5 separate regions of the Homo sapiens genome follow, and regions 1, 3, 4 and 5 are each linked to region 2. The links are contacts of gene promoters, found by promoter capture Hi-C in blood cells and fetal thymus (Javierre and others, 2016). All regions are on one chromosome and are shown on one strand. Each heading gives the region's core, a stretch centred on a gene start or on the middle of the fragment in contact. The rest is flanking DNA. Distances are from core to core; before and after follow the strand shown.

Region 1 (4,818 bases), core at 855-3,354, 150 kb before region 2:
GGGCGCAGGGGTCGGGGGCTGAGCCTGGCCCCGCCCCCGGGCGCGCACGACGCTGGGGGGCGACTAAGGGGGCCCTGGTATGGCGTCCGAGCGAGGGGCGGCCGTGGGACGCGATCGCCTGGGGCCGTGGAAGGGGAGGTGCTCACTCCCTCTTTGAAGGGTTAATTCTGCAGCCTAATGGCCCCCTCCCCCCGTGGGGCAGATTGGGGGTGGGGTGGGGCGGGTGTGAGCCCGGGCAAGCGCTGCAAGCTGCTGGGAGGGTGATGGCGTAGGAGCCAGGCAGAGAGGGGGAGGGGTGGGCCGCCGAGCGCCCCAGAGTTGGGGTGTGCGGGGTGCGCAGGGCGAGCTGGGGCCCCGGAACCGCCGCGCCGTCGGGGCAGGGTTGTGGCTGTGAGTCTTGGAGATCGTGTGTCTTGTGCTGTGTGGTGGGGCAAGGTAAACCTCTCCTGGGCACCACCGTTTGCTGGCAGCCAGGGGTCTGGGTAGGGCCCTCCCTGGGCCATGGAGATAGAAAGCCAGGAAGGGTGTCCAGTGTTGTGGGGCAGAGTTACAAGACGAGCCCTGTGGCTTTGGGTGACAGATGGGTATTCTGAGCAGGGCACAGCATGCTGGGTGCAGAGTTTGTTCGATGTGGGGCTGTATGTTTTCTACAGCATGTGTTTTCTCGCATGTGTGTCTTGTGCTGCACCTATGACCTGTTTATGAACTGTTTTCTGCAGAGCTGGCATGCTGTATGTGTTGCGGAGGGTGCCAGGATGCAGTGTATGTGCCCTTTTGGAGGGGGCGGTTGTGGGCCTTTGAGTCAGAAGGCGTCACGTCTGGGTCCCATTTCTGTGGCCCTGCTGAGGTGTGGTCCAGTGGTGAAGAGGGCGATGGATGGGTTTGCGTGTCTGTGATGAGCGCGTTGCATGGGGGCTGCGCGTCTAGAACTCAGATCCCAAAGATCATGAGAGGAGCGAGGAACCCCGGGGTATGTCTCAGGGGCCTGTGGGTCAGTTGGCACTGGTGTGAGGGGCTCGAGGTGGAATGCGCCAGTTGTGTTTATGGGATCATGGGCAGCCAAGCGAGGGGAAGGTTGTGTGTTTGCAACATTCTCCACAGGATTCTTTTGTGACGTTGTTTGTAGGAGCCTGTCTGGGCTGCTGAGCTGGGAGGCAAACTGGTCAGAAAACACATGTGGGGAGGGAGGTGGCGTGACAAGGGCAGTGTGGGCCTCAGACCCAAGAGGCCAGCCGCAAGCAGGCTGTGTGTGCGTGCCTGCCGTCTGTGTGCTTAAGTGGCGGTGGGGCTGCGGAGGGGATTTGGTATGAGGAAGGCGGGAGATAAATGCAGGGTAGCGCATGGAGGCCGGCGGGAGGCATGGGTGTTGTCAGATGGCCCAGCTAATCTTTGCAGGGTCTGTATGTTTGCCCCTCATGAGCCTGCCCAGCGTGTCAGGGTCACCCGGAGGAGAGGCTGGGCGGCCACAAGGGAAGTAAGCTTAGACAGAGAGGCTCCTTGGCCATGTTTATGTAAAGGCTGGGTGTGACTCTTGTCACTAAAATGGAAAAAAGAAACGTGAAGTTTTCAGCCTCCTCCTGCTTCACCCTCTCCCTCTCTCTGCCCCCCTTGTGGGTATCTCTGACGCACACTGGGCCCCACTCCTGCGACGGTGGAAGGGCCTCAGAACAGAATTCGCTCACTAGGCAGATTCCTCAGAACAGGTTTTCCTCACCTTTGGGGACTGGGCCCTTCTAGGGGTGTGTGTGCAAGTGCATTCCAAGCCTGCACACCACTGTCTACTGTGCCCGGCCCCACTGGAAGGATGTGTGTACGTGGGGGAAGGGAGGGTGCTGCGGACAGGCCCTCCGGCATGGGGGGCTGGGAAGGGGTGGCTGCCGTGGGAGCCTGCTCAACAGGTGCACAGTGACGGTCTGGTGAAGAGAAAGGAGCCATGGTCCAGGGCTGAGGAGCTCTGGCGTCTTTACCATTCCCTCACTGGCACTTGATCTGAAGGAAGCTCAGTTCCTCATCTGCAGAATGGGGCTGATTGTCTGCCCTGCGTATCTTCCAAAAGCACATGGGAAACGGACCCGGAAAGTGGCTATAGTCTGGGGGCTGTGCCTATGCCAGCCCCTGTCAGCCCTCCCCCAGGACTGGGAATTCCCTTCTTGGGGCTTCGCTGATAATAATGGCAGCACACACTTGCTTAGCACTGACCGTGCACCAGCCTGTCCTCAGGGCACTTATATGTGGCCACTCTGTCCTCAGAACAACACCCTGAAGTAGGCACTCTACCTCCCTTTTTCAAGTGAGGCAGCTGAGGTCCAGAGAAGTTAAGTAATCTGCCCCAAGTCACTTAGCTAGTAAGAGGTGAAGCTGTATTTGAACCCGGGCAATCAGGTTGAAGATCTTGTGCTCTTAACTACTGTACTCTGCTGCCTTCTGGAACATTCAGTGGATGGTCCTTTCTGTGCAACTCCCTCCAACACTCTTCTCCCCAGTTGCTGCAGAACTTAGCATTTGCAGCAGTCCATTTCAGAAGACCCGGATGCTCAGGGATCCCCAGCTGAGGGCATGAGAACCTGAGTCTCTGCTGCTGTGTAAGGTGGATGCTGGCCATAGGAGCACAAAAGGTTGATGAGTCAGAGGAAGGAATGATCGTTCTCATCCTGTGGATCAGGGAGGGCCAAGAAGGAGGTGGCCTTGGAGTCAGATCTTAACGTTTTGGAGGGATTTTGACAAGCTTGGGGAAAGAGCATTTCTGGCAGAACAAGCCAGCACAGGCAAAGGCATGAAGGTGTGGGTCATGTAGAAGCTGGAGAGCACACTGGGTGTCTGGGGTTTTGTTCATTTGTTTAGAAACTGGGTCTCAATATATTGCCCAGGCTGGACTCAAACTCCTGGGCTCAAGCAATCCTCTAGCTGCAGCCTCCTGAGTAGCTGGGACTATGGGTATCTGCCATCACGCCTGGCTCACGCTGAGTACTGTGTGTTTGAAGAGGATAACACAAGGCAAGATTAAAAAGGAAGATTGGAGCTAGACCAGAGCCCTTGACTGCCTGGTAGAAGAATTTGAACTTTCTTCTAGAGTCAGTGGGGACCAGTGGAGGTTTTGAGCCCAGGAGTGATAGTCCTGAACTGTGGTTAGGGACGTTGACCCTCAGGGGGAGGAGGGCTGGATGGAGGAAGGTAAGCCTGGAGGCCAGGGGATAGCTGGGAGGCCATAACCTTGGACCACGTGAGTGTTAACAAGGACCTGAGCTATCGAAGGGAAGATTTCCAGAGCCATTCCCAAGCTCGGCGGCGATTTCAGCCACACTTGATGACTGCTGGATGTGGAAGTGAGGGAAAGGGTGGAGTCAGACATGACACATTTAGCACTTAGCACGTGAGACCTTGTGCGGTGGTTTATGTAACCAGCTGGCGGGCCATAGGCCTCTTCAGGGCCAGGTCTAGCAGTATGGCAGAGGGAAAGATTGAGCATCTGGGGTCAGCTGGGCCTGGATTCGAATCTTGACTGCTGCTTACAAGCTGTGCGACCTCGAGTAAGGTATATCCCTCTCTGAGCCTCGGTTTCCTCTTCTGTAAAATTAGAATAATATGGCCGGGCGCAGTGGCCCATGCCTGTAATCCCAGAACTTTGGGAAGCCAAGGCAGGTGGATCACCTGAGGTCAGGAGTTCAAGACCAGCCTGGCCAACATGGAGAAACCCTGTCTCTACTAAAAATAAAAAAACTAGCTGGGCGTGGAATCCCAGCTACTCTGGAGGCTGAGGCAGGAGAATTGCTTGAACCCAGGAGACGGAGGTTGCAGTGAGCCGAGATCACGCCACTGCGCTCCAGCCTGGGCAACAGGATAATATAAAACCTATTGTGGGTGGCTGTACTGAGAATATCATTAAATGAGGTAATGTGTGTGAGGCCCCAAGAAGAGTATGAGGCAAATTGTGAGGACTCCAGAGTGGTCAACTTATTTATGGTTTCTTTTAATTTTTTTTTGAGACGGAATTTCTCTCTTGTTACCCAGGCTGGAATGCAATGGCATGATCTTGGCTCACTGCAACCTCCGCCTTCCGGGTTCAGGTGATTCTCCTGCCTCAGCCTCCCGGGTAGCTGGGGTTACAGGCGCCCGCCACTACGCCCAGCTAATTTTTTATTTTCAGTAGAGACCAAGTTTCACCATGTTGGCCAGGCTGGTCTCACCATGTTGGCTAGGCAGGTGGTCAATCCCTGACCTCAGGTGATCCACCTGCCTTGGCCTCCCAAAGTGCTGGGATTACAGGCGTGAGTTGGCCATACCTGGCCTTTTTTTTTTTTTTTTTTTTTTTTGAGGCAGAGTCTCACTCTGTCGCCCAGGCTGGAATGCAGTGGCGCAATCTCTGCTCGCTGCAACCGCCACCTCCCCGGTTCAAGCAATTCTCCTGCCTCAGCCACCTGAGTAGCTGGGGTTACAAGCGTGCACCACCACACCCAGCTAATTTTTGTATTTTTAGTACAGATGGGGTTTCATCATGTTGGCCAGGCTGGTCTGGAACTCCTGACCTCAAGTGATCTGCCCGCCTCAGCCTCCCAAAGTGCTGGGATTACAGGTGTGCGCCACTGTGCCTGGCCCAGAAGTGGTCAAGTTATAATTGTCATCCCTATCTCCAGGCCAACTCAGTCCAGCGTGGACGATGGCTTCCATCCTGGAGGATGGACTTTGAGGACAGGTTCATTCATTTACCAGTTTTTTTGTTTTGTTTTTACCACCTATTACGTGCTAGGCCCTATTCTAACGACTTCAGATACGGCAATGAACAAAGCAGACAAAATTCCCTACCCTTGGCCGGGCGCTGTG
Region 2 (4,874 bases), core at 703-3,202:
CCTGACCTCAGGTGATCTGCCCACCTCGGCCTCCCAAAGTGCTAGGATTACAGGCATGAGTCACCACTCCGACTCAAAACAGGTTTCTTATACCTTGTTGAGGCTGGGGATGGGGTCAGACTTAATGATAATCACAGTCCTGTGCAGCCACGGTTTATGGGGCACCTGCTCTTCTCCCGAAAGCCTGGAACCTCGGACTTCCCACTCAATTGCCCTCACCTACTCTAACTCTTCATTCTTAAGGCTCTGCCCCTTTCCTTCTGGCTCCCACCCTCAGGTGTCCTGAACCCTCCCGACTCTGGGCTGGCTGCCCGCAGAGCTGGGCTCCTTACTTCTCCACATTGGGGGATTTCTGCATCAAGTTGGAGCTGTTCTTTCGTAGGATGCTCCGGGGCCGGTCCTGTTGGGAGTTTTGGGGGTTCAAGCAAGTTGGCCCAGAGTGCGGACTGCACCCGGGGCTGTTTACCTCTTGCCCTGCAGGTCCCCCAGGCCCGGGGCTGGAAGCCCTGGATACACTGGTTCGAGGCCCGGGGATGTTGAATCCACCAGGGTTCCTGCCAGACCCAAGGCTGTGGTTCGCAGCCTCCCTTGGGTGCTGACTGGGCCCGGAACCAAGGACCACTATCCCCCCGGAGGGACAGCTTGAACCAGTACTATGAGTTACGGAGCCCCCTGAGTGCACGTGGGGCCCAGAACCGTGAAACAAGACTACTCTGGAGGGCTGCCCAGCGCCTGCCTCGACTCCTGTGACCGCTGCGGGCACTCCTCTGGCTGCCCCTCCAGGGGAATCCCGGTTGAGGCCGCCAGCAGCCCCTAGGGACTCCACCTTCTCCATGGCCCCACTGGGGGGCTGCTCTCAGCGATCCTGACCCGCCTCCCGGCTCCACGTAGCCCCGCCCCTGGCCCCGCCCCCACCGCTGCCGGCCGGGGATGCTCGGGCTCAGTCCCGGGTCCACTTCTCCCCTGCTCCAGAGCTGCGGCGGGCGGAATCAAGACTATATAGAGACTCGGGCTGGGGGTCCCTCCGCTCGCCCCTTTCCTTTGTGTCCCACCCAAAGATTTTCTTTGTCTGGGCAATTTGTTCCCGCCCTTCTCCATCACCACCCTCATCCAAACCAGCCAATCCCAGTCAGGGGGCCAGGCCAGGAGCTTCGACTGTGACCTCACGGTCCTCCAGCCTGAGCTTGAGCTTCGGGGAGTTGGGCAGGGGGCTTGTTAATAGCTCTAAGGGAGATCTTTTGGGGTCATCAACGCTGTCGCTTGAAACGGCCTGTCGGGACTTCTTTAGACTCTTTGTGGTCTTAACATGGAATAGTTTGGTTGAGTTGGAGTTGAAGCTGGGCTTGACTTGAACTATCAGCGAGCTTCCCCCACCCCCGCCAGTCGGCTAGCTCAGCCAATCAGAAGAGGTGTGAGGCAAAGTGGAAGGACTGCCGCACTGTTGCAAGACACTTCGTCCTCAGTCGGGTGGCGGGAAGAGACTTTCACTACCGCTTCTCTGGGTCCTCCAGACTCGGCTCACGCTGCTTTGGAGCCTGCATCCCGAGGGGAGACACCCCCTCTTGCCGTAAAGCGAGTGCTTCAAGGTGTCACCGCCCCCTAGCGAGGGCGGGGTCGTCGGTGCCGCTGTCGCAAAGCAGAAAGTGTTTGGGCTCCAGCACCCCACCGTCGTAAAGATGCCTGCGGTGGGCGTGTCTTTCTCCCACTGTCGCAAAAGCTCCCTGCCCAGGTCTTCGTCCCCCTCGGAGCCGCTCCGTCACCTCGCTATGCCGTAAAGCGAGGCTCCCGACCCCGTGTCCTTCTGTTCTCATCGTGGTCGTCCCCAGCTCCTAGCGCGGGCTGCTTCATTGCCCGGCAGTGCCGTAAAGCATACCTGGCCTCAGCCCCCCGGTCGTATCCCTCGGACTGTCTGCCCGACGCGGTTGCCACGGTGCCGCCAAGCGCGGCTGTCGCGCTGCCCCGGTGTCAGCGGAGATGGCGGCAGGGTCGGGTGGGAGTGGGGGCTCTGGGGGAGGCCCTGGACCGGGGCCGGGCGGGGGTGGGGGCCCCAGCGGGAGCGGCTCAGGACCGGGGTCCAACGGGGGTCTGGGCAGCGGCGGGGAACTGCACCCGCGCACTGGGCGCTTGGTGAGCCTGTCGGCCTGTGGGCGTACGGCGCGGCGGCAGCAGCCGGGCCAGGAGTTTAACCACGGGCTGGTGTTGAGCCGAGAACCCTTGCGCGATGGACGCGTCTTCACCGTCCGCATCGACCGCAAGGTGCAGCGCTGGTACCGCGGAACAGAGATGTGGAGGGTGGTGGGAGGCGTCTAGAGGGAGACGGGGTAGGACAGCCAGGGTAGCCCACATTGCCGGGCACCGAGAGGGAACAGAAAGACCATAGAGCACCAGGGGGCGGTCAGGAAGACAGCATGAAGCAGAAACATTGAGTTTGAAGATGACATTAAGAGCTTGAGTTTTCTCAAGATCCAGAACCAGGGAAGGGACACGAGGGCTAACCCACTAGAATGGCTGGGAACAGACCTCCTGGTACAATTTCTTGGGCATGGAGGATGGAGAGATGTCAGAGATGTGATGGCAAGTGAAGAAAGATGCCAAGGAACGAACAAACGTAATCCCAGCACTTTGGGAGTCCGAGGCGGGCGGATCACTAGAGTCAGGGGTTTGAGACCAGCCTGGTGAACGTGGTGAAACCCCGTCTTTACTAAAAATACAAAAATTGGCCAGGCATGGTGGCGTGCGCCTGTAATCCCAGCTACTCTGGAGGCTGAGGCAGGAGAATGGCTTGAACCCGGGAGGCAGAGGTTGCAGTGAGCTGAGATCATGCCATTGCACTCCAGCCTGGGCAATAGAGTGAGTGAGACTCCGTCTCAAAAAAACAGAACAAACCATTGAAGGACAGAGGCTGTGCCAGAAAGATAGGTGAGGAGAAAGATCCAGGGTGAGGGAGGTGTGTGTGATTCAGTGAAGAGGCCAGGCTCACAGAAAAAGAACTTGGAAGGAGATTGAATCTGGGTAGAGCCTGATCTTTGGAGAGAATTAGGCCAGGGGAAAGGAATGAATGATACACAAGAGCAAGAGGTGTGGGTATAGGAAGTAGGAGAATTTGGATGGTTGGAGAGCCATAGAGACAAGGAAAGTTAGAGGAGGCAGGAGGTTGGAACCAAGGAATTTGTGCTTGGCTTGGAAAGGAGTGGTTTAGTAAACACTGAGTAGAGAGCAGAGTTGCTAAAGGAAAGCCCAAATAATTACCAAGACGGAGTCCAGAAAATCACTGTCTGCATCTCTGGATTAGTGTTCCAAGAGACAGAAAGCCAGCTAGCTGTCTGAGAGGTGGGAAGATATGGTGGCCTGTGGAATGGGGGGTGGCCCATTCTAAGCCTCTGTCCAATACCCCTATCCCAGGTCAACTCCTGGAGCGGCTCCATTGAGATTGGGGTGACAGCGCTGGACCCCAGTGTGCTGGACTTTCCAAGCAGTGCCACGGGCCTGAAGGGGGGCTCGTGGGTAGTGTCGGGCTGCTCTGTGCTGAGAGATGGACGCTCTGTGTTGGAGGAGTATGGTCAGGACCTGGACCAGCTTGGTGAAGGGGACCGCGTGGGCGTGGAGCGCACAGTTGCTGGGGAGCTTCGGCTCTGGGTGAATGGGCGGGATTGCGGTGTGGCTGCCACAGGCCTGCCCCCTCGTGTCTGGGCCGTCGTGGACCTTTATGGCAAGTGCACCCAGATCACCGTGCTACCCCCTGAGCCAGGCTTCAGCCCCCCTACTCCCATCCCCACACCTCCCCTCGAGCCCTTGGCCCCCACTGAAGACTCTGCCTTGGCTGAACAGGGGACCTCTGCAGATGAAGGTGAGAACACAGCTAGGGCAGTGGTGGTGGGGTGGGGACGGAATGGGGGAAATAGAGTGACAAGACAGGCTGGGTGTGGGCAGGGCCACCCTGATCCCCAAGTCTGTTGAATGGGAGAGCAGGAGCTAGAGGATGGGGGGTTCTCCTGGCTATGGGCCGTGAAGCAGGGACTGAACCCTTATTCCCCTCCCATCCCACCTGGTCCCCAGCCTTCATGGTGTCCCCAGCGCAGGCCCGGCCGGAGACGTTTCCTAACAGCCTTGAGTCGCATAATGGTGAGGGCTTTGGGGAGGCCCTGGGAAGGGGAGTGGGAAGTGAGGTGGACAAGGGAGGGCCCTCAGGAGAAGGGGTAGGGAGAGAGGCACCAGGTCTGGGGGTGTAGAGCCTCATCCCAACTTCCGAGCTTCCTTCTTCCATCCTGCTGCTATAGACTTTGCCAACATGGAGCTGTCTGAGGTGGTGAGCAACACCATCCTGTCTGCCTACAATGGAGGGCTCCTGAATGTGAACCTGAGCTCCCCACCGGCAGGGGAAGGCCTGGGATCTAGCGGTGCTGCCACCTCGCCCATTCTCACTTCCAACGATGCCCTGCTCTTTCATGAAAAGTGCGGGACCCTCATCAAACTCAGCAACAATAATAAGACGGCTGAGCGCCGGCGGCCCCTGGATGAATTCAACAATGGGGTTGTCATGACCAATCGCCCCCTTCGGGACAATGAGATGTTTGAGGTGTGCAAAGTCCTGTGGTCTGGTTGGCGCCTTATCCCTGGGAGCTAAAGATGGGGATTGACCCTTGGTGCTAGGAGGGTGGGCCCTGGGGAAGAACCAAGGGCTGAAGGTCCCTTTCTGCATTTACATTCCCTGCTTCTCCCTTCTGTCCCTCAATGCCAGATCCGTATCGACAAGCTTGTTGATAAGTGGTCAGGCTCCATTGAGATTGGGGTCACCACCCACAACCCCAACAGTTTGGAGTACCCAGCCACCATGACCAACCTCCAGTCAGGTACCAGCCCCGGGCAGGGGCGGG
Region 3 (4,821 bases), core at 1,160-3,659, 190 kb after region 2:
TTAAAGGTTAGACGCAAGATGGAGTCGGTTAGGTCTGATTTCTTTCACTGTCATAATTTCCTCAGTTATAATTTTTGCAAAGGAGGTTCCATTGCCTCCCCAGTGACTGTGGATCTCGTCACACCTGCCATTGTAATCGGTCCTGATAGCTTCCGCCACCTTAGCCAGAGCTGCTTTGTCTTCCCAGTGAGCCTGTGTGAAGGTGACAGTCTTTTCTGGGGTCTTCCTGCAGACCAGGCATCTCCGTCCTGCCTTCCCCTGGATAACGCAGTAAGGGAACCCCACTGTAGGACACAGCGCAGACAGAGAGACAGCAAGCTCGACGAGAGTCACGTGCAGTCACCACCAGCTGAGGCTTCTTGTTCTCCACCAAGGTGCTGTCGGGGTTAACCCTGCTCGTGGGACAGTTGGGGTCTTCATGGAGATGCCCCCTTTGCCGGCAGCTTTCTTCTCTGCACGGGCCAATAGCCTCTGCTTCTTTTCTTGCCCTGTCTCTGGTCTGTACCATGGTCCAGCTGATGCAGTTGAGGAGCTGTTTTCTCGGTCCAAGGCCTGGATGAGTCGGTCACTTGCAGGAGGCACTTTCAGCTGCTCGTGGAGGTCAGCCGTTTGCCACTGCAACCAGATGTAGTTGGGCCATTCAACAATCAACAAAGCAGGTGAGGTCCCTTTTGGGCTGGATAGCCTGTTCAATGCCAGATTCTTAAGCCTTTTCTCAAATGCCGAAATTCTTTTTTTTTTTTTTTTTTTTTTGAGACGGAGTCTCACTCTGTTGCCCAGGCTGGAGTGCGGTGGCGCGATCTTGGCTCACTTCAACCTCTGCCTGCTGGGTTCAAGCAATGAGCAATGAGCCACTGTGCCCGGCCTCGACTGCCTTCTTATTTCTGCGATTGCCACCAGATGCTGCTGCTGCAAACAAGTCCCGCTCAGCCAGAGGCCACCCCTGCCGTGGCTGCGCTGTAGTCACCGTGGATCTGGCTATAGTTTGATGCAGTAATACGGGAGCTAAAAAGAAATTACTTAGGCAGTTGGTGAGGGTAAGAGAGTCCTCGGTAAGGCATCCCTTTTAACAAAAAGCAGCCCCCACATCATTTCTTTTCTAACAAAGAGCAGCCTGTAAAATCGAGCTGCAGACATTGACAGGCAAGCTGGAAGCTTGAACGGGTGAATGGCGGCAGCCGTGCCAATCGGAAAAGGCTACCTGGGGCCAGGCATGTTCAACATGGAGGCTTCATCTTCCCTTTTCCTTATCAACCACCTGTACAGTAAAGGAAGCAGCAACATGATGCCAACCAGGTAGAGAATCCATTTGCATAATAAAAGATTAGGGTGGGGCGGCCAGCTTCTTCTTGCACTATGTAAATGGCATACCTGGTCCCGCAATCTTTTGGGCTCTGTGTAAATCAGACACTGCCTGGCCGGGTGGGTGCGGCGGCTCTCGCCTATAATCCCAGCACTTTGGGAGGCTGAGCCGGGTGGATCACCTGATGTCAGGAGTTTGAGACCAGCCTGACCAACATGGTGAAACCCCGTCTCTACTAAAAATACAAAAATTAGCCGGGCGTGGTGTGCATGCCTGTAATTCCAGCTACTCGGGAGGCTGAGGCAGGAGAATCCCTTGAACCTGGGAGGCAGAGGTTGCGGTGAGCCGAGATCGTGCCACTGCACTCCAGCCTGGGCAACAAGAGCGAAACTCTGTCTCAAAAACAAAACAAAACAAAACAAGGCAAAACCTCCAAATCAGACACTGCCTCCTCAAGCTCACCTATAACACCCAGTGCATTTCACCTCGGAGCCAGAAGACCGACTTGGGAGCCCCTCCCTCTCTGCAGGAGAGAGAGCTTTTCTTTCTCTTGCCTATTAAACCTCTGCTCTTAAACTCACTCGTCGTGTGTGCCTGCATCCTCAATTTCCTTGGCATGAGACGATGAACCTTGGGTATTACCTCAGACAACGAGCTTCAAAAGCTTAATGGAACAGACCGTCTACCCCTGTTGTGCCCTGCTTAGCTCTGTCCCGGAAGCCACTAGGCACCTAGGCTGTGACAGTTTCAGTCTTTAACCCCCAATGACAGCTTGCTCAGGGCACACCCAGTCCCTCCTTAGTGCTGCTGAGCAACTGCACCGTGTCCTCGGGCTCCAGAGGAAAAAACACTTCAGTTCATAGCCCTGCTCAGCAGAGGTCCTCAAAGCACATCTTCTCAGCCTCTATCTGGTGAGGGGGCACCTTCAGCCTGTGCCAAACGCGGCTTCCCTCACAAACCCTACCAGGCCTTAGCACTGATACAGGATTCTAGGGACTGAATGTTTCTGTCCTCCCCACCCCGGATTCATAGGTGGAAGCCCTACTCCACAGTGTGATGATATTTGGAGGTGGGGCCTTTGGGAGATAATTACATTTAGATGAGGTTGTGAGGGTGGGGTCCCCACGATAGGATTTGTGCCCTTGTTGGAAGAGAAGGAGGCCAGAGTGTGCTCTCTCATCCACGTGAGGACACAGCAAGAAGGTGGCTGTCTGTAAACCAGGAAGTGAGCCCTCCCCAGACACTGGATCTGCCGGTACCTTCACCTTGGGCTTCCTAGCCTCCAGAACTGTGAGAAAGAAATGTTTTTTTTTTGTTTAAGCCATTCAGTCCGTGGTGTTTTGCAATGGCAGTGCAAGCTGACTAAGACACAGGGTCACTTGTTCTATTTCCTCTTCAGTCATGATGGGCTTCCCTCGGGCCCTTTGGTGCCTTTCCCCGTCAGTGGACTTCAGCTAGAGCCTCTGTTCATCACAGAGGTTCTAAGGACATTAGATCTCCAAAAGAAAGGGACTAGGGTCTCAAATTTCTTTGCTTCACAGAAGCTTTTTGGCCCCACCTTTCAGTGACCTGTCTGCAAACCAAAACTGGCAAAGAAGGGCAGTCTCCCCTGAGCCACTGGAGAAGTCCTGCCTCCCCTGCCTGGGGTAGGCGACGGCTGGCTTCCCACTTAAACAGTTAAGGGGAGCTGCTCAGTGCTTACAAAGTCATTTGCTAACTTGCCTAGACAAAGAAGTTATTAGTAACTTTTACATGTCAGCTTGGGTAAACAAAACAAGTTTAAGTTCCTGTAATCAGGCAGCATGTTTTTATTATTATTATTATTATTTTATTATTTGAGATGAAGTATTGCTCTGTCGCCCAGGCTGGAGTGCAGCGGTGCAATCTCGGCTCACCACAAGCTCCGCCTCTCAGGTGCACACCATTCTCCTGTCTCGGCCTCCGGAGTAGCTGGGACTACCGGCGTCCGCCACCACGCCCGGCTAATTTTTTTGTATTTTTAGTAGAGACGGGGTGTTTCACCGTGTTAGCCTGGATGGTCTCCATCTGCTGACTTCGTGATCTGCCCACCTCAGCCTCCCAAAGTGCTGGGATTACAGGCGTGAGCCACCGCGCCTGGCCACCATGTTTTATTATTAAAAGTTAATGGGGGCCGGGCATGGTGGCTCACGCCTGTAATCCCAGCACTTTGGGAGGTCGAAGCGGGCGCATCACCTGAGGTCAGGAGTTCGAGACCAGCCTGGCCAACGTGGTGAAACTCTGTCTCTACTAAAAACACCAAAATTAGCCGGGCATGGTGGTGGGTGCCTGTGGTCCCAGCTACTTGGAAGGCTGAGGGGGAAGAACTGCTTGCACTTGGAAAGCAGAGATTACAGTGAGCCAACATCGCGCCATTGCACTCCAGCCTGGGCGACAGAGTGAAACTCCATCTCAAAAACAAAACAAAAAAAGTTAATGGGAAGAAAAGCTATAGCCAGCAAAGGTCACAGGCAGGCTGGGTGGCTATGAGACCCCTCAGAGAGGCTGGGGCTGGGAAGGGGTGTAGGGAGGGTAGATTACATTCAGACTGACTCATGCTTACCTCAGGCTGTGAGATCCCAGCCCTCTGGGCAGATCCTGAGTCTGGAGCAGGCTTGGCTTATACCAGGTGGGGCTGGGAGACCCCTCCAGCAGGTCCCTGGAGGCCATGGCAGATGTAGCTGGGCCCAGAGCATTACATGCCATGAATGGGAGGAGAGCCGCCGTTCTGTTTGATTTTCTCTCAGCTCTCCTGTCCTTCTCAGCAAAATTAGTTTGAGCCTCTGCCTCAAAACTTGCAAAGTGAGGCTCTGAAACCCCGTCAGTGAAGATATGCTCGCATTTGGTCTTTAAGGAAATAGCTCTGAGGGACTCTCGAGGCAGTCTGTGAAGGAGGCAGGCTGCCAAGACACCGTAGGGTGATGCTGGGGGAAGAATCATCACTGGTAACCCCGATTGCAGGGAGCGGTGGTTGGCGGAATCCCCTGGCGGGAGGCGCTGTCTTCCCAGAGCAGGAGTACAGTGTCCTCTGGGTGGAGAGAACTCAGCAAGGCTGAGGGTGGGGTTGCTCAGCCTGTGCAGATTCCCTTACTTACTTGTCCCGTCTCCCCACTTCCTAATTTTACTATAAAAGAGGGAAGGAACACGAAAGTCTGTTAGGGCAGAGAGGCTGTGGATTGCATTTAGTGTATCAAGAGTAAAACTCAAGAAGCTCTTTTTCAAATAATCTTTTAAATTTGGGGCTTATAAATGCAATCGTCCTGGTTTCTGAACTCCATGTAATAGATCTGGGGATGAAACAGAAGCTATCACGGTCTCAGGCCAAGCTGCCTCAACACCTTTAGGGGCTTCGCAAGCCTTTTTCGACTCTAAGATGTGAACCAGAAAGTGTTTTTGTGATTCAGGCTAGGATGTCTTACCAGTTGGCAAAAGAAAGATAATAAGTAAGTGTAGCCAAATAGTTCTCAGGAGCTGAATAATTGAATACTCTTAGCTATGTA
Region 4 (4,627 bases), core at 1,058-3,557, 170 kb before region 2:
TGCGCCGTTCTGCTCATTGCGCCGCAGCTGATTGTTGATCTTCACGATGTCAGCCAGTTTGTGAGTCAGGTCATCCTGAGGCAGGAAGTCAGAATCATCATGGTCCAGCCACCACTGCCAGCGCTCGGCAGGAACGTACCAGGCACACAGCACAGCTCTCATCCTCACACCACCCCAGGAGGCAGGACTGCCCACTATCATTTATAGATTCAGAAACACGTTTGTGGCCTTTAACCATGTGAAAGGACTCATTAAAGATCATACAGCTAGTAAGTAGCAGGGGAATTTTCAAACCCAGGTCCATCCACCCATCCCCACCTACAGGTCTTCCTCCCTTTAGACACCTCGCCCTCCAGCTAAGAGGCAGAGCCCTGGAGCCACTGACCTGGTTACGGGCAGAGCCCTGCATCACAACAGCAGGCCGCACGGAGAGCGGGGGCACAGGCAGCACTGTGACAATCATCCACTCTGGCCGTGCATAGCGGGGCTCCATGCCCAGCACAAAACACTCCTCATCTGAGATGCGTTTGAAGATCTCATGCACTCGCTCTGGACTCAGCAGGATCTTCTTCTCCTGAGAGTCCTCATTAACGTGCTTCCATTCCGCATACAGCTCTAGGCCAGAACGCCGGATCCTGGGCTGGTACCGCCCACAGCCACCATGGCCCTTCCAAGGAGAGACAGGGGCCATCAGAGCCCAGAGGGTGGGCCATTTCCCTCCACACCAGGCCAGCCCCTCCTGTTTCCTTCCCTTCCAGTTTCCTCCCTCCAGGCCTCTGACCCCTCCTTCCCAAAAGTCTCCGCCAGCCCCAGCCACCTTTTCTTTGGTCAGATCCTCGTCACCCTCAGGTTGTTCCACACCGAACTTGTTGTCCATCTCCTCCCCACCCTCGCATATGTTTTTGCCCTTGCAAAGGTCGTAGACATGTGTGAGCCGCTTCTTGGGCTGTCCCTTGGACTTAGCCAGGATATCCTTGATCTTTGGGTTGTTCTGGGGACAGGGCAGAGCAGGGTCAGTTGAAGCTGTCCCCCTGCCCCCTACCAAGCACCCCCGCTCCCAGACCAGAGCCTGTTCCCCACTCACAGAGTCCACAAGCAGTTTGGAGCAGAAGAAGCAGACACAGCGCAAAACTTTCATTGTCTTCACCAGGAAGCCCACGTGAAACACAGGCTTGGCCAGTTCAATGTGGCCAAAGTGGCCAGGACACTCTGTCATGTTTCCTGTGGGACACACACCCAGTGCTTTCCTCCCAGCTCCCACTCATCTCAGAGGCCTCCAGGTGTCAACCGTCAGCCCTAGTTTTGAGGACCCAACCCACCTCCCCTTTGGGATCCCACCTGGCCCCCCAGCACTTACCTGCACATGTTTGGCAGCGGCCAGTCCGCTCAATCACCCCCTGCCTCGGGTCCATCAGCCCCCCAAGCTTGGGGCGGCCTCCCTCAGTCGTCTCTGGGTATTTGATGCCACCCTCCGTCACAGACATTCGCTTCTGCAAAGAAAGAAAGGCCAACAACTGAACAGCGTTCCTAGTTTCTAGCCTTTGTGGCTGGGGAGCTCTGGACTAAGGTCTGGGAAAACCCTGAACTACTTACAGAAGAACTAAGTTTAGCCTGGAGTGAGGGGAATGGGGGATTGGTGTGTGTACACTTCTGAAAAGGCCAAAGTTGAATATCCCAAGTCAGAGGCTTATTCCAGTCACTGAGGCAGGAAAAGCACTCACACTAGATAATGGTCGATCCTGGGTTCCATACAAATCACCTGCTACTGGGACATGAACCCCAGACTTCCATCTGGGTTGAATTCTAGGTCTCTGACATCCATAGGATTTAGCCACAAAAAGAAATCAAAGTTGCTTCAGGAAAAACAAAAAAACAAAACAATGCTTTATTTGTTCCTCCCAAGCAGAAATCAAGCTCATGAATCTGAGATCCTGGCAGAAGCCTCTCTGTACCTGTACCCTCGCCATGACAGCCCAGGTGTTCTGCACCAAGACATGCCCCGCCAACTCAAGCCCCTGATAAGAAACGAGGCACTCAGAGATGCAGCCCTGTTTCTTTTCCCTCATCTTTGTCATGCCCTCCTTCTCAAGGCCTGAACTGCTTGAACCCTTTCGTGTCCAGATGGAGATTTTATTATTGGTTTTGTTTTGTTTTGAGATGGAGTCTCGCTCTGTCGCCAGGCTGGAGTGCAGTGGCGCAATCGCAGCTCACTGCAACCTCTGCCTCCCGGGTTCAAGTGATTCTCCTGCCTCAGCCTCCCAAGTAGCTGGGACTACAGGTGAGCGCCACCACATCGAGCTAATTTTTGTATTTTTAGTAGAGACAGGGTTTCACCAGGTTGGCCAGGATGGTCTCTTGACCTCATGGTCCACCCGCCTCGGCCTCCCAAAGTACTGGGATTACAGGCGTGAGCCACCGCGCCAGGCCAGAGATTTTATTAAAAGACTGGAGAAACAGGTGCTAGAAAAACAGGTTGGTGGAAATGATTTGAAGCAAAAGTGAATAGCTGGAATCCCAAGAAAGGAAGAGCCAGGACTTGATGGGGACATTTCAATGAAGGAAAGGAGGAAACAGAAGAACTCAGAAGTAGATGGGCCGGGTGCGGTGGCTCACACCCGTAATCCCTGCACTTTGGGAGGCTGAGACGGGTGGATCACCTGAGGTCAGGAGTTTGAGACCAGCCTGGCCAACATAGTGAAACCCCATCTCTACTAAAAATACAAAAAAATTAGCTGGGTGTGGTGATGGGTACCTGTAATCCCAGCTACTCGGGAGGCTGAGGCAGGAGAATCACTTGAACCCAGGAGGCGGAGGTTGCAGTGAGCTGAGATCGCACCACTGCACTTCAGCCTGAATGACAGAGCAAGACTCCGTCTCAAAAAAAAAAAAAAATTGTAATGCTATTGTACACTTAGACTTAGTAGACTACAGCATAGTACTAATGTAACATGCACAATGGCAACCAAAAAACTCCATGTGACTTGCTTTATTGCGGTGGGCTGGAACCAAACTCACAGTATCTCCAAGGTATGCTTGGATACTCATTCTCAACTCTCTAATTCCAGGCCTTACTTTTCTTCTGGACTTTGGGTTCACGTATGTGACTACCTACTGAACCCCCTGCAAACATCACACCAAAAAATCAAATTAAACATGTTTAAAAGCAAACTCTCTTTTCCACAAAAGCTTCTCTTTTTCCTTTAGTCTCTATCCCAGATTCAGAAACCTATGCTTACCTTTCCTTACCTTCAAGCACAAAACAGTCCAAAGAACATGGACTTAGCTGTCGGGCACCCTTGCTTTGGAATTCTGCCTATATTACTTATGAACTATGTAACCATTAAGGACTTAATTAGCTTGCTTAAGTCCAGGATGTAATTGGCGCTTTATGAATGGACATTATTATTATTCAGTCATTCACCAGGTACTGGTCACTTTTACCTCCCTTTTTTTTTTAAGAAGTCTTGCTCTGTCACCCAGGCTGGAGTGCAGTGGCGGGAATCTCAGCTGGGTTTACACACATAAGCCACCACGCCTGGCCTCCTAAGTGTTTCTTGAATCTTGCCTCTCTTCTCCATCCCCACCACCATTGCCCTAGTTCAGGCCCTTCCTTTGTAGTCTACAACAGAGCGTTCCTATGGGTCACCAGCCTGTCTCTCTCCAATCCTTCTACATTACAACTGGGGTGCTCATTCTAAAATAAAAATGTGTGCTAAAAATAAATAAAATAAAAATTAATAATAAACTAAAAATGTAATCATTCATACCCTCTTGTCCTCAGACTGACATCCAAACTCAGCAGGACAGCTTCCCAAAAGGATTTTATGATGTTCTCAACCTTCATTTCCCTGATGCTCCACACCTTCCTGTTCACTCCTCAGTAACAATTCCCTGGAGTCGCCTATCACATCCAGCGCAACACGTGCTGCGTTCCTCCGGGGTTTTCTATATGCTAGTGCCTCTCTGCTTGGAATGCTCTTCCCACTGCAAAACTCCTATTTCAAGACTCGGCTCAGGCACTGCTTCCTCCAGGAAGCCTTTCCACAGCCTGCCCAAAGTAGACAGGCACCCCTCCTCTGTGCTTCCACAGCCCTCTATCACTGCACATACAACAATGCAATAAAATGACCTATGGGGGTCTGTCTTCCCTATAACTATAAGCACCTCTCAGGCAGGCAGAATGCCTCAACCATCCTGAATCCCATGTGCCTGCCTGAAACATGGTGGGCTCCTAACAAATGTCTGTTAAATTGACCTACTGCTTAGGACTCTCCACTGGAGGGAGGTACCCTCAAAAAACTTGGAAAAAGAGAGGTTACCCTCTGACAGTCAAACCAGTAATCCCCTCATAATAGGTCTGATTGGCCACTGCTGGGTAGAAACCAAAATGGTCTACAGATGCAAAGCTGAAGAAGTTCTGCACACCTCTCAGCCTCAGACAGGTTCAAAACTCTCATCAACATGACCTGATGAAATCTCAGGAAGACAGTCCTCATGGATGACTACATTTGCAAAGCTGGAACCTCATCAGCTGCATTGTCTGGTGAGAAACATGAAGGGGATTTGCTCACCTTGAATGAGACCAAAAAAAGCGGAAGCAGTTACGTATCTGGCCTCCACAACAGAC
Region 5 (4,340 bases), core at 1,365-3,864, 260 kb after region 2:
GCTTGAAAGGCAGCATGCAGGCCGGGCGCAGTGGTTCACGCCTGTAATCCCAGCAGTTTGGGAGGCCGAGGCGGGTGGATCACGAGGTCAGGAGTTCGAGAGCAGCCTGATCGACATGGTGAAACCCCGTCTCTACTAAAAAAAATACAAAAAATAGCTGGGTGTGGTGGTGGGCGCCTGTAATCTCAGCTACTAGGGAGGCTGAGGCAGGAGAATTGCTTGAACACGGGAGGCGGAGGTAGCCGTGAGCCGAGATCGCGCCATTGCACTCCAGCCTGGGCAGCAAGAGTGAAACTCCGTCTCAAAAAAAAAAAAAAAAAAAAGAAAGAAAGAAAGAAAGGCAGCATGCTTTCTCTGGAGAGCAGGCTGGAGAAACAGGGGCAGAGGAATCCAAAGCAGATTTGATGGCTGTACCTGGCCATGATGTAGGGGGTGGGTGGGGGCGGGAAGGAACATTCCCTGGCTTGGCCCTGTGCAGGGGTATCTGAGCTCCAGGAACACACTACGCAGAAGGCACACCTAGGCCACTGTCCCCACTGCCCATCTGTGTGTGTCCCAGTTCATTCTGAAATGCTCCTGCGAGTCCAGCAGCTGGTGCAAGACCTGAAGAAACTGACCTGCCAGGTGGCTACTCTCAACAACAATGGTGAGGAAGGTATGGGGAGTACCTGGCCCTACTTTTCTGCCCATGGCCCACTGGGCAGAGCCTCAGCCTCTCCACCCTATCCTATTTCTCCCCAATCAGCCTCCACTGAAGGGACCTGCTGCCCTGTCAACTGGGTGGAGCACCAAGACAGCTGCTACTGGTTCTCTCACTCTGGGATGTCCTGGGCCGAGGCTGAGAAGTACTGCCAGCTGAAGAACGCCCACCTGGTGGTCATCAACTCCAGGGAGGAGCAGGTGAGGGCTTCTGGTACTCAGTTCCTAAGACATGTCCCATTTAGGGAAATGGTTCTTAAGCTTGGCCGCACATTGGAATCATCTGGGAGCTTCCAGAATGACTGTCATCTGTGCCACACCCTCAGAGATTTAATAGGCCTGAGCATCCAGAGAAACATCTCCAAACTCCTCAGTTGATTTAACGAAGAGCTAAAGTTGAGAATCACTAGTTTAAGGAGTTGGCTGGGATGGGAAGAAGTCACCACTGCCCTTCTGTCACCGCAGAATTTTGTCCAGAAATATCTAGGCTCCGCATACACCTGGATGGGCCTCAGTGACCCTGAAGGAGCCTGGAAGTGGGTGGATGGAACAGACTATGCGACCGGCTTCCAGTGAGTGCACCCTGGCTTTCTGTGCCAATGTCCTCCGTCAGCGTTTCCCCCAGGGATCTGACTGGCAGCCTCTCCTCCCCTGAACTGAATTCTACTCCATCTACCCTTCCTAGCTTGCTGTTGTCTTTTCCTCTCAGGAACTGGAAGCCAGGCCAGCCAGACGACTGGCAGGGGCACGGGCTGGGTGGAGGCGAGGACTGTGCTCACTTCCATCCAGACGGCAGGTGGAATGACGACGTCTGCCAGAGGCCCTACCACTGGGTCTGCGAGGCTGGCCTGGGTCAGACCAGCCAGGAGAGTCACTGAGCTGCCTTTGGTGGGACCACCCGGCCACAGAAATGGCGGTGGGAGGAGGACTCTTCTCACGACCTCCTCGCAAGACCGCTCTGGGAGAGAAATAAGCACTGGGAGATTGGAAGCACTGCTAACATTTTGAATTTTTTTCTCTTTAATTTTAAAAAGATGGTATAGTGTTCTTAAGCTTTTATTTTTTTTCCAACTTTTGAAAGTCAACTTCATGAAGGTATAATTTTTACATAATAAAAATGCACTCATTTAAAGAGTAGAGATGACTTTGACAAATATGCATGCCTAGGTGACTACCACTCCGATCGCAATAGATAACATTGCCATCGCCCCCACCAGTCCCCTCATGCCTCTGGGCAGTCCAACCACTTCCCTGTTTCCAGGCCAGTGATCTACTTCTTTTTCACTATTTATTGGCCTTGCCTCTTCTAGAGCTTCTAGAACTTCATATAAGTGAAATCATACACTCTCGTGTATATACTTCATATAAGTGAATATATACTCTCGTGAGAACTTACGTACTTTGTGTTGCTTGATTTTTGGCAATCTAAAAATGGCAGAGTGGAGAAGCCAGGTGAAGCCTTCGAAAGTCCTATGTGATTGAGAAAATAGCATTTTCTTCTCATATAGATTTGAGTTCAAATCTTTTCTGTCACTTAAAGATGGTATAAACTTAGGGTGATTAGGAAAAGCCATTGTTTAATTTCTCTGAAGATCCCAGAGTTGTTGGGAGATGTAGATAAGATCCCCAGGTGTATTGGTTAGCAATTGGTGTGTAACAAACCACCTCAAAGCTCAGGGCTTATACAGTAAGCATTTATTATAGCTCATGAGGCTATAGGTCTGGTCTGGCCAGGTTTGGGTCATCTTGGCTGGGCTTGTTTATGCGTCCGTGGTCAGCTGGTGGGTTGGCTTGGGGTTGGCTGGTCTAGGGTAGCCTTGCTCCCATGTCTCATATTTGGCTGGCTCTGGGCTGGGACAATGGGGATGACTGGGCCACATTAGCTTAGCCTGGCCTTGTTCACAGAATGGCTGGGTGGGGGTCCAAGAGAGAAATTGGAAGACTGCAAGGACTTCAGAGCCTTGCTTGGAACTGAAGCATCGTTTTTGCTGCATCCTATTGGCCAAAGCAGATTGCAAGGCTGCCCAGGTTCAAGGGCCAGAGAAATAGATTCCACATTTTGGTGGGGGGTTGGGGGGGGGTCTACAAAGTCATACTGTGTAGAGAATGGATATAGAGAGGGGTGGAGATTTCTGTTTTTTCAATCAATCCAGCATATACCAGGGAAGCATCTCAGCTATTTTGATTTTTTTTTTTTTTTTTTTTTTTGAGACGGGAATTTCCTTCTTGTTGCCCAGGCTGGAGTGCAATGGCGTCATCTCAGCTCACTGCAACCTCCGCCTCCCAGGTTCAAGTGATTCTCCTGCCTCAGCCTTCCGAGTAGCTGGGATTACAGGAGCCTGCCACCATGTCTGGCTACTTTTGTGTTTTAAGTAGAGATGGGGTTTCTCCAGGTTGGTCAGGCTGGTCTCCAACTCCCGACCTCAGGTGATCAGCCCGCCTCGGCCTCCCAAAGTGCTGGGATTACAGGCATGAGCCACCACACCCAGCTGCATTTCAGCTATTAAGAACCAACTTTTTAAGTTCATTAAGGGATGGCAGGACCCATTCATTGCTGTATTACTGTACCCAGAAAGCTCCCTGGCATATAGGAATGTCTGAATTAGCTGTCAGGATTTGCTGATGGGTTGTCTGAGGGGTTTGGGAAAATGAGAAAGTCAAGGATAATTCCAGGTTTGGGGCTTGAAAACCTAGAAGGATGGAGTCCCAGTTAATTAAGATGGGAAGACCGTGTGAGAAGCTGGTTTTGTGGGTGGGATGAGGAGATAAGAAGCTTTATTTTGAACATGTTGAGTTTGAGGAGCCTGTTAGACTTCCAAATGGAGTTTATTCTTTTTTATTTTTCTGTGTACCATAGTAAACATTTATAATTTTATTCAAAGGGTTTTTTTTTAATCAGTTCCAGCAAGATACAGGTGTCAAAACCAAAGGATTTATTTCTCTTTCTCTCTCTCTACATATATATATAGAGAGACAGGTTCTTGTTCTGTCACCCAGGCTAGAATGCAGTGGTGCGATCATAGCTCACTGCAGCCTTGAACTCCTGGACTCAAGCAATCCTCTCTTCTCAGCCTCCTGAGTAGCTGAGACTATAGATGTGTGCCCCCATGCCTGGCTAAGTTTATTTTTTGTAGAGATAGGGTCTCACTATGTTGCCCAGGGTGGTTTCAAACTCCTGGGCTCAAGCGATTGTCCTGCCTTGGCCTCCCAAACTGCTAGGATTACAGGTATGAGCTGCAGTGCTTGGCCACAAAAGGGTTTATTGAAAAGAGTTTAATGACATTTACAGAGTGTGAGCAGGGTTGAGGAAGCCAACAAAAGTTGGTGAAGTCCCTGTGGCTAAGAATAGCAGAGACATCACCACTCTGAAGCCTGAAGGCACAAAAGTAAAGAACATCCACCCAGATCATCCACCCAAGCAGCTCTGTGCCTCTCTCCCCTGGGTCTGAAAGATTTTGGATCATGGGAGAGAAGCCACCCAGCAGGAGCGTGAGATCACAGTTCTACCAGGGCCACAGAATGTAGAGGGGAGCAGGAGAACCAATACAAGTCAGTTCCCTCTAGAATTTCCTGACCTGGTAATTCTGCTACCTAAGAAAGCAAACAATTACATTCTCTAGTTTTGTACAGGTAACTGGACG

What was found. Contacts are between HindIII fragments. The CHiCAGO score rates a contact against its expected background, and 5 or more counts as called.
Region 1: a fragment that was not itself captured here is called in contact with the fragment with the promoter of NEURL4 in region 2 in 11 of 17 cell types (naive CD4 T cells, total CD8 T cells, naive B cells and 8 more); the score reaches 8.2 in naive CD4 T cells.
Region 3: a fragment that was not itself captured here is called in contact with the fragment with the promoter of NEURL4 in region 2 in 1 of 17 cell types (M0 macrophages); the score reaches 6.9 in M0 macrophages.
Region 4: a fragment that was not itself captured here is called in contact with the fragment with the promoter of NEURL4 in region 2 in 11 of 17 cell types (total CD8 T cells, fetal thymus, activated CD4 T cells and 8 more); the score reaches 9.0 in total CD8 T cells.
Region 5: a contact is called between a fragment that was not itself captured here and the fragment with the promoter of NEURL4 in region 2, in 1 of 17 cell types (monocytes). The highest score is 5.3, in monocytes.

The regions. Positions count from the first base shown.
Region 1 is chr17:7,474,504-7,479,321 of GRCh38, reverse strand. The region is part of intron 1 of ZBTB4 (zinc finger and BTB domain containing 4); the gene reads left to right. Among named protein-coding and RNA genes, the nearest start is that of ZBTB4, 2.7 kb to the left of the region's middle. RefSeq lists silencers at 1-74, 335-384. The HindIII fragment of the contact is 1,246 bases long and covers 1,482-2,727 here.
Region 2 is chr17:7,326,413-7,331,286 of GRCh38, reverse strand. NEURL4 (neuralized E3 ubiquitin protein ligase 4) reads left to right here and starts at 1,952. Exons shown (of 29, transcript NM_032442.3): 1 at 1,952-2,256; 2 at 3,403-3,847; 3 at 4,057-4,122; 4 at 4,278-4,576; 5 at 4,739-4,850. The coding sequence starts at 1,975. RefSeq lists enhancers at 518-667, 1,548-1,597, 1,628-1,807, 1,743-2,037, 2,020-2,679 and a silencer at 2,008-2,247. The HindIII fragment of the contact is 8,367 bases long and covers 1-4,755 here.
Region 3 is chr17:7,136,862-7,141,682 of GRCh38, reverse strand. It overlaps LOC105371512 (a long non-coding RNA gene), which reads right to left. Exons shown (of 3, transcript XR_934191.3): 2 at 3,885-4,445; 3 at 920-1,005. It also overlaps the pseudogene RPL7AP64. Among named protein-coding and RNA genes, the nearest start is that of ASGR2, 24 kb to the right of the region's middle. The HindIII fragment of the contact is 880 bases long and covers 1,970-2,849 here.
Region 4 is chr17:7,492,804-7,497,430 of GRCh38, reverse strand. It overlaps POLR2A (RNA polymerase II subunit A), which reads right to left. Exons shown (of 30, transcript NM_000937.5): 2 at 1,358-1,490; 3 at 1,085-1,221; 4 at 818-991; 5 at 386-667; 6 at 1-75. Among named protein-coding and RNA genes, the nearest start is that of POLR2A, 11 kb to the right of the region's middle. The HindIII fragment of the contact is 1,762 bases long and covers 1,427-3,188 here.
Region 5 is chr17:7,072,291-7,076,630 of GRCh38, reverse strand. It overlaps CLEC10A (C-type lectin domain containing 10A), which reads left to right. Exons shown (of 9, transcript NM_001330070.2): 6 at 560-646; 7 at 746-900; 8 at 1,165-1,271; 9 at 1,409-2,094. The coding sequence ends at 1,577. Among named protein-coding and RNA genes, the nearest start is that of CLEC10A, 5.8 kb to the left of the region's middle. The HindIII fragment of the contact is 1,720 bases long and covers 1,755-3,474 here.